Linked DNA regions of Homo sapiens: region 2 is linked to region 1. The links are contacts of gene promoters, found by promoter capture Hi-C in human tissues and cell types (Jung and others, 2019). All regions are on one chromosome and are shown on one strand. Each heading gives the region's core, a stretch centred on a gene start or on the middle of the fragment in contact. The rest is flanking DNA. Distances are from core to core; before and after follow the strand shown. Region 1 holds the start of NUP107 (nucleoporin 107). Region 2 has its middle 34 kb from the start of LINC02384.

The links. The method cuts DNA at HindIII sites, captures the fragments that hold promoters and counts their contacts. A contact is called where the count stands out against the background at its distance.
Region 2: a contact is called between a fragment that was not itself captured here and the fragment with the promoter of NUP107 in region 1, in 1 of the 25 tissues and cell types used here (IMR-90 fibroblasts).

Annotation. Positions count from the first base shown.
Region 1 is chr12:68,684,338-68,688,902 of GRCh38, forward strand. It overlaps NUP107 (nucleoporin 107), which reads left to right and starts at 2,641. Exons shown (of 28, transcript NM_020401.4): 1 at 2,641-2,736. The coding sequence starts at 2,729. It overlaps LOC100507250 (a long non-coding RNA gene), which reads right to left and starts at 2,522. Exons shown (of 3, transcript NR_038930.1): 1 at 2,400-2,522; 2 at 1,526-1,680. It also overlaps the pseudogene RPL7P42. The HindIII fragment of the contact is 7,944 bases long and covers 1-4,565 here.
Region 2 is chr12:68,415,302-68,420,462 of GRCh38, forward strand. No RefSeq gene overlaps it. Among named protein-coding and RNA genes, the nearest start is that of LINC02384, 34 kb to the right of the region's middle. The HindIII fragment of the contact is 7,779 bases long and covers 1-5,161 here.

The DNA of each region.
Region 1 (4,565 bases), core at 1,391-3,890:
ACATCTTGTTTAATCCTCACAACACCCCCTGACAAAGGTATTGTTTTCTCCACTCTACAGATGAGGAATCTGCAGGTGCAGGGGGGTTGAACCTAGATGGAGCCCAAAGCAATGTTTTTATCAAAATGCCATGTTGTCTGAGAGGGGATAATAAGGTATGAAGAGGCCTTCCGGGGAACTATGCTTCCCAGAATTACAGCAGAACATAAATGCCTAAGGCAAAACTTCCACTGATTTCCTCTTTCCCAGCTGAAACCATGGAGGGTATTGAAGACAAGAAAAAGAAGATTCCTGCTGTGCCAGAAACCCTTTAAAAATGTGAGGGAAGGCTGGGCACTGTGGTTCATGCCTGTAATCCCAGCACTTTGGGAGGCCGAGGCGGGTGGATCATGAGGTCAGGAGTTCGAGACCAGCCTGGCCAGCATGGTGAAACCCCGCCTCTACTAAAAATACAAAAATTAGCTGGGCATGGTGGTGCACGCCTGTAATCCCAGCTACTTGGGAGGCTGATGTACAAGAATCGCTTGAACCGGGGAGGCAGAGGTTTCAGTGAGCCAAGATTGCATCACTGCACTCCAGCCTGGGCAAAAGGGCAAGACTCTGTCTCAAAAAATAAAAATAAAACACATGAAGGAATTTCACAGAGCTAAAGGTCAAGTGCCTGAGAAAGAAGTTTGCCCATAAAATGCTTTGAAAAGAAAGGAGAAGGCCAGGCGCAGTGGCTCACGCCTGTAATCCCAGCACTTTGGGAGGCTGAGGCAGGTGAATCACCTGAGGTCAGGAGTTCAAGACCAGCCTGGACAACATGGTGAAACCCCATCTCTACCAAAAACGCAAAAATTAGCCGGGTGTGGTGGCAGACACCTGTAATCCCAGCTACTCAGGAGGCTGAGGCAGGAGAATCGCTTGAACCCAGGAGGCAGAGGTTGCAGTGAGCCGAGATGGCACCACTGCACTCCAGCCTGGGCAATGGAATGAGACTCCATCTCGAAAAAAAAGAAAAAGAAAAGCAAGGAGAAAGCTACATCTATGAAAAAGCTAGGCACTGTCAGATGTGGTGGCTAACCCCTGTAATCCCAGCACTTTGGGAGACCCAGGTAAGAGGATGGCTTGAGCCCAAGAGTTTGAGACCAGCCTGGGCAACAACATAAGACCCCATTTCTCCAAAATATTTTTAAAAAACGGGGGAGGAGAGGAGGTCAGGCATGGTGGTGCGTGCCTGTGGTCCCAGCAACCTCAGGTACTAGGGAGGCTGAGGTAGGAGGATTGCTGGAGCCCAGGAGGTCAAGGCTGCAGTGAGCCGTGACTGTGCCACTGCACGTAAGCCGGGACAATAGGACAAGATCCTGTCTCAAAAAAAAAAAAAACAAAGAAAGAAGGAAGGAAGGAAACATAATTTAAAAAATCAAGTCCAAAAAAAAGCAAGCAAGAAGTAAAAAAAAAAAGCTCAGCACTGTCACAAGAAATATATGGCAAGAAAAGCTGGCAATTTCTATATACCTGTGAAACCCAAATTGTCACTTGCCTTAAGGATCAAATGTATCAATGGTGTGAGCCCAAAACTCTGTTGCAACTTCTTCACTTTCCCCAGATCTTCAATGGCAGCTTTGTTAAACTCAACAAGGCTTCAGTTAACACGCTGAGGATTGTGGAACCATATATCACATGGAGTACCTGAACCTGAAATCAGTAAATGAACTGATCTACAAATTGGTTATGGCAAAATCAATAAACAAATTACCTTAACAGATAACGCTTTGATTGCTAGATTTCCTGATAAATATGGCATCATCTGACTGGAGAATCTGATTCATGAGATCTATGCTGTTGAAAAACTCAAGTTCCTGTGATCCTTCAAATTATCTTCTCCACGAGGGAGAATGAAGGACTACCTATTTTGTATTAATAAAAGGTATAAATGCCAGCAACAGAAAAGACTATATCAACAGGCTTATTAAACGGATAAACTGAAGCATCTAACATTATTTTTGTAATCTGGTCAGTTAATAGCCAGTCACTACTTTCAAACTGGAAAAAACAAAAACCAAAACAAAAATGTGACTGACTCCTTCAAGACCAAAATACACCACTTTTTGCCTAGACGGCACTTTGAAATAGAGGGCAATACCATCATATTTCACGCTTGCCTTTCTACTTTTTAATACAGGTGAACTTTTTCTCCTTAATAGGAAAGAACACCAAGTAAAGAACAAATAGCAGTTATGGAAAATAGTTGCAAAAACTGCAGGGGGCTACAGAACAAAGGACTGAGTGTAGGCAGAGAGATAGAGATCCCCGAGGTGTGGGGCAGAGCCCACGCATCTGAATTCCAAGAACAGGCGCTTTCTGACAGAGAATACCAGGAAATGACTTCACATTTTTCCAGACTATCAACATACTTCATTCTTCCCAGTAGGAGAACCCAGGGCCTGTTCCACGCCCACAGACTTTGGTCAGGCAAAGCGGCCGCAGGGCGTCTGGGCTAAACGCAACCAGGAACACATTGGCAAACTTTTGCGCCTGCGCCCACCGGGCGTGCACCTGTAGGCTGAAGTCGCGCATGCGCTAGATGGGAACGTTGTTTCTTCTCCCCTACCCCTTTTCTGTGGGTCTGTTTTAGGGACAGACTGCTTCCGGGTCGAAGGGCTTGCTTCCGGAGAGCGGGAAGGCTAAAACGCGGTAGCTAAACTGCAGCCAACTTTGGTTGTGTGTGGAAAAGGCTTTAGCCATGGACAGGTCAGTACTGATGGTGGCAGCTGAGCCCGAAGTCTTGCCCGTCTCGCCTGTTGGCGAAACGAAATAGGTGAAACTAGACTCCCAGAAGAAGCCAAGGAGGTCCCGGGTGCTTCCCCTAAGGCTCCTTCCCCATGCCGGGAAATTTGGCCACAAATGGGGAAAAAGCCGCTTGGCGTGCGTCGGGGTGGGGTACAGATCATAATAGTCCCTTACTTTCCCACTACGTTCTGCGATCTATTCGGCGCTTTGGGGCAGCAACACTGTTCGCTCCTGGGGTGGGCGGGGTAGGTAGCGCGGCGTTCGAAATGCTAAGTGACCAGCCTGAGATCACAAAGCCAGTCAGTGAAGATACTGGGATCTCAGCCCAGACTTTCTGATTACAAGTGCCAGCATCAGATTCTGAGTTCCCTCTATGATCTGGGTACTGTGCTAGCCGCCTACAACAAAGATCAGTTATTCAAGATCCTTCCCCTCGGGGAATTAGTTGTGTAATGGAGACAACCAAGCAGTGTAAAGTGGTAAGTGTTTGGGGGCGATTAAGTCTCCTTGTCACTGTAACTATCAGGAAGACCCCTCAAAGAAGGTAACTTTCTAGCTGGTCTTTGAATAATAAGAGTACATTATTCGTACTCCAAACATTGAGTACCTACTATGTGACTGCCATTGTTCTAAAGGCGTTGAATATATATTATTAGCTTATTTAATCTTCAGAACAAGAAAAATCCTATGAGATGGGTACTGTTATCCTTTTTTCATATATAACACTGAGACTAAAAGAGGTTAAGGAACTTGCTGAAAGTTCGGAAGCTAATAAATACAAGAACCAAATTGCCAACCTGCATCTGTGTGTCTCCAGCCTACCTGAGGCTCTTTGAGGAGTAAGTAGTTGTTGACCAGGTGCTCAAGGGGGCAAATGTAGGTCTTTGTAAAAGAAGCATATTCAGAGGTGCTAGGATATGAAAAAAAAGTACGTGTAGCTCAGTGGTCACATGCAGTATACGTTTAAAGTGATGTTTGTGGCTGAATAGAAGACTGAACCCCTAAACTGGGGTCACATTGTAAATATCATTTTAGGAAATTTTTACTTCTATAGACCAGAGAGCTATCTGAAGGTTTTTTTTTTTGTTTTTAATTTTAATTGTTAAACGTTTAAAATTGTTTCTATGTGGTTGTTTCCCATACTTTCCTGCTGAAGGAATATCTGAAGGTTTTAAGTGGAGGAAAAGCATATTAGATTCTTGTCTTAAACACAGGCCTTTTAGTCCGCACAATTTAGTTTCTAGACCTTTGAGTGAAACTGACAGGGAGTGTTGTGATGGGACAGGAGACCTCCTGGGTTGAAATAACTTGAAGGGTCATTTTGCTCCAATTTACCACAATTCTTTTACTTACCCTTCTATCTCACAAGCTCTGTTTGTTGTTGTTGTTGCAAGCTCTGTTTGTTGTTGTTGTTGTTTGTTTGTTTTTTAATAGTACCCATGGTTTAAAGCATTTTGGAGACTGCAGAAAATCTTTTAAGAGAGAATTCCTGCAGTTAGGTAACTCCTCAATCCAACAAGGGAAATAAGATTCACTTTCATGAAGCAATTATCTAAAACAGTGTTATAATATAGATTCCAAGTGTTGAAATAATTCCTTAGGAGAAAATAACATAGTGAGTACTAGAAAGTCAGAGAAGTCTTTGTGCAGGTAAGATTTGAGTAAGGCTTTGAAGAATAAGCAGGATTTGGAGCCAGGAGTGCGTTCTCAACAAAAGATCTAAGACTTGGCTACTAGAATGACTATACCTTAACTTACTCAGGGTCCTTTACTCCAACTGTGATGATAAA
Region 2 (5,161 bases), core at 140-2,639, 270 kb before region 1:
ATTCCTCAAAAGAAGAATATTAATGTCATTGCCAAAAGATAGTGACTAGATACAGGACTGCCAACATTAAAAAATATAAATTTCCACTAATCCCCAACACTTTTGTATTGTGGGAATCTACAAAGTGTTTAGGACTGAAAAGTACTATATGGAAGAGCTTCTAGAACTCCCCAAAACACCCAGTTCCTGCATATGCAAAAGTTACCAACTGTGGATTGAACTACCTTCCCCCCTAGTTTGGAAGGTTATTCCAAAAACAAACAGTTGTACCCTAGTTATGCTGCTGTGTACCCCCTCTCTCTCCTTTATCAAATCCTGTGACACAAGCTTCTATCTCCTCGTCATCCATTCATCATCAAACCCTGTGCCTCGCTGGAGCCTTAAATTCAAGTCTTTGCCTGTATGAAATTTCTGGGTACCAACGCAGTTAGTCTCCTGAATCTTGGTACCTAACATTTTCCCTTTGATATTGCACTTTATTTAATTGAGGTGGTATCTATGTCACCTACCTCATTATGCTTCAGTGTGTGTGTGTGTGTGTGTGTGTGTGTTTCAGAGTAAAATGAAACCTGCAAGCAGAACATTTTCATACCACTATTTACTACTAAGTATAATACAGTCTAATATCATGTATCCTAGAGCTTATTATAAGACAGAGTTTAAAAAAACAAAAAAAACAAAAAAAAAAACCTCATCATAACCAGTGAGGAACTGACAAGTACCCAGGGATCTGGTTTCTAGTTCAGATTTGCCATGAATAATCTAGGATGCCATGGACTCTTTACTTATCTCTCTGGACTTGCATTTCCTCTCTATAAAATTAGAGGCTTGAATCATAGCTGGTCTCTAAATCTCTCCCTGCTTTTACATTCTATGACTCCTACAGCCAGACCCTCTATAAGAGCTAAAAAGAAAAGCTAAAGCAAGGTGAGGGAACAGATGAGACCACGGTTCTAGGTGAGGTGCCATAGTCAAGAAAGGCCTTTCTGGGGAGGGGACAGTAGAACTGAAGCTGAAGGAAATGAGGGAGCCGACATGTGAGTATCTGGGGTACGAGTACTCTAGGTACAGCCTTTCTTAATGATGGTAGGTAATGCTCTTCTCAGCATGACAAGAAGTTTCATCCTCTACCATAGTTCCCATCCCTGTCAAGTAGGAACAACGCATAGAGAGAGATGATGCCAACCCAAGACAGGCCCCGCACAAGCTGGATGGGGCACAACAGGGACTGGGTGGTGCCCATGACTGAGCTGAAGTCTAGAAGTCATGGTGTAGAGGGTGGGGACAGTCAAATCCAGGTGAGCAGATCCAAACAAGTCATTGGCTTAAAGGGATTATTGAAGAATGGCATGCGAGACTTGAATGGGTCGGGGAAAGAGAAAAGCTGAAGTCCTAAGTTGTAAACCAGAAATTGTCCCAGAAAGCTGTATTTCGAACCAAGAGTAATGACCTGTAGGAGAGTTATTACATCAATTTAATGGGTCATGACCCGTTTATTTTTTTAATTATATTAGAAGAGAATGAACTTACCAGTGTATATCACATAAAGGGCAAGTGATTGTTCTGTGAAACATTTTTTTCTGTTGTAAACATGTATATGTTGAGTCATTTTGTAGAACTGACTTCTCATTGTGAGTGATAGTTTTAAAAAAAATTAAAAGCCAGTGGCCTAGAAAAAATTCCAGGTATGGACTGCAGAGGCCAGTGGCAGTTTTTCATTTAAAGATTTAGTGGATGGGCTGGGTGCAGTGGCTCATCCCTTGGGAGGCCAAGGCAGGCAGATTGCTCCAGCCCAGAAGTTTGAGACCAGCCTGGGCAACATGGCGAAACCACATCTCTACAAAAAAATGCAAAAATTTGCCGGGCGGCTGTGGTGGCGCATGCCTGTAGTCCCAGCCACTTTCGGGCTGAGGTGGGAGGATCTCTTGACCCCGGGAGGAGGCTGCAGTGAGCCGAGATTCACACCACTGCATTCCAGCCTGTCTCGAAAAAAAAAAAAAAAAAAGAAAGGAAGAGAGAGAGAGAAGAAAAAAAGAAAGAAAGAAAGAGAGAAAGGAAGAAAGAAAGAAAGAAAAAGAAAGAAAGAAAGAAAGAAAGAAAGAAAGAGAAAAAAGAAAGAAAGAAAGAAAGAAAGAAAGAAAGAAAGAAAGAAAGAAAGAGAAAGAAAGGAAGGAAAAGAAATTAATCCTCTACATATGGAGCTTTTTTAAAATGTTAAGTATACTAGAAAAGAAAGAGCAGAATCCAGAAATAAAAGACTTCTGCTCCCCCACCCTCTGTAACAAGGGACCAGAGGACCCCACCTACCCATCACCCTTTGTCACCACTATCACCATCACCACCACCCACAAAAAGAACAGCCTGATCCCTGACATGCTGGGTAAAGAATTGCTTGTAAACTGAAAGAGAGAAAACTCAAATGCCCACCAGAATATGAGAATAACAAGTAAATGAACCTGACCAAGTGTAAGAAAAATGGGAACGGTGGGGACTCTGGTGGAGGAAATACTTAAGCCCTGCCCTGCCCAAGAGGGGCAGCAGCTACTCAGCTCTCAGCAGCTGTTGTGCAAGAATGTGGACCAAGTGTTGTCAGATCTTGGTATTTTTTCAAGAGATACTGGAAATCCAGGTTTTTATAATGAAAAACATTTTAAAACACTGGGTAAGCCAAATGAAACATGTCTGAAGGCCTAAACACACTCACACTACACCAAGTGTGAATAGCTGCTGTGTGTAGGTGGTGATACTTGGGGTCATTTATATTTTCATTTTTACATTTCACTGCATGTTTCAGAATTTTAACAGTGAACATCATTTTACTTTTATAATGAGAGAAGAATGAAGGTTGTCAAATATTTAAAACTCTATTAACTAAACAGGTAGACATTTGAGTTTTCTCTTTTTAGTTTACAAGCAATTCTTTACCCATCATTTCAGACACCAGGCTGTTCTTTCTGTGGGTGGTGGTGATGGTGGTGACAAAGGGTGATAGGCAGGTGGGGTGCCCTGGCCCCTTGTTGTTTTATCCTGCATTAAGATCAGGATAAAACAACAAATGTTACAGAAATTTTCTCTGGGTGAATGTTTACATGTGACTAAATTTTTATGTTATGTTTTACAACAAAAGTTTGCAGTACATCACAAATAATTTCAGCCTAACTACAGCAATATGCCAAGTCTCAGGTTTGCTGATTCGAGGTTTGTGGTCACCATCTTTGGCTATTGTTTGCCCATCAGGACTTATGAAAGCAATTGCTTGTTCCATAATATTATTCTCATTTCTACTTAAGTATTTAGCCCAGCTTCTATAATATGCAAGTCTTCTGGATTCTGGCTAGATATTGGAAACAAAGAACAGGCAATTCTTCCCCTGGAGTAATTATAGTATAGTCTACTATCTAGAGTGGTTAGAGTGGTTATGTGTACTAAATGAGTTAAAATTTATAAAGCTCATGCCTCTAATCCCAGCACTTTGCAAGGCTGAGGAAGGTGGATCACCTGAGGTCAGGAGTTCGAGACCAGCCTGACCAACATGGAGAAACCCCGTCTCTACTAAAAATATAAAATTAGCCGGGCGTGGTGGCACATGCCTGTAATCCCAGCTACTCAGGAGGCTAAGGCAGGAGAATTGCTTGAACTGGGGAGGCGAAGATGAGTGATCAGTGAGCTGAGATCACACCACTGCACTTTTGTATTTTTTGTATTTTTAGTAGAGAGGGAGTTTCACCACGTTGCTCAGGCTGGTCTTGAACTCCTGACCTTGTGATCCACCCGCCTCAGCCTCCCAAAGTGCTGGGATTACAGGCGTGAGCCACCACACCTGGCCAGCATTTTTTTTAAATGAAAGAGAATGGAACAGACCTGAACACAATAGTGCCAGCAGTGAAGATAAATATTGTTTATTGAAAATTTGTGTGTTGTTTTATATAGAGGTACGTATAAGTGGCAGTTGTGGAGGTTAAAATTTTTTGAAAGCTACTTTACTCGACCAAAGTTGAAGCCTTGGCTTTATTTTCTGCATTGAGCTCCCTCTGTAAAACAGAGAAAGAAAATGTCTGTGTGTGTGTATGTACATTCATGTGCATATAACTATGTGCATGTATACATGTAATTATCCTAAAAGAATTTCAGAAAAAGCAGCCAGGTGCAGTGGCTTGCACCTGTAATCCTAGCACTTTGGGAGGCCGAGGCTGATGGGTTGCTTGAGGCCAGGAGTTCAAGACCAGCCTGGCCAACACAGCAAGACCCCATTTCTAAAAAAAAAAAAAAAATTTTTTTAATTAGCTGGGCATGGTGGCATGCATCCATAGTCCCAGCTACTGGAGAGGCTGAGACAGGAGGGTTGCTTGTGCCCAGGAGTTTGAAGGTGTGGTGAGCTTTGATCACGCCATCACATTCCAGCCTAGGCAACAGAGTGAGACCCTGCCTCTAAAAATCATAATAATAATAGATAAAAATAAAACAAGAACTTGAGAAAAAGGAACTTTTTAAGAGGAGAGAAGAAATCCCCCATTCCCCAAATAGATGGCCTAGATCTGAAGATGTTTATTCCAAGGGTAAACTTTTCATTACTAATAAATAGTGTTTACTGAGATCTTATTGCATGCCAGGCACTGAGCTAAACACTCCACATTTAATCCTCCCAACAACCCTATGAGGCGAAAATAAACACCAACAAAACAAAGAAACCCCAACAAACATTACAGATTTAAAATCTACAGGTAACAGATAACCCTCCCTCCCTGACTCCCCTCTCTGTCTCCCCCAGCCCCACTCTACGCACCCCCTCCCATCCTTTCTCTCTCTCCCTGTTTCATATTTCTGGAAAAGAAAAGAAGAATGGTCAAAAAGAAGGGAAAAGGGAAAAGAAAAGCCACGGAAATAAAACAGATGGGACAAGAGGAGAGGAGGAAGGAGGGAGGTGATCAAAAGAGAAAGGAGGAGCATATTGAGCATAGTTGGTGCCGTACCATATACTGCCAATAAATTCTCATTTTGAGTACAAAACCTTGCATGGGACTGTTGAAGAAGGCTCAGTCTTTAGGGTGGAGTTGAGAAAGACAGAGCGGTGTGGTGTGCCAAAACAAACTCCTACTTTCTCATTCTGCTCAAGGTCAGCCTTGACACACTTTCCTCCAATGTGGCAGGAACACCAGCTACA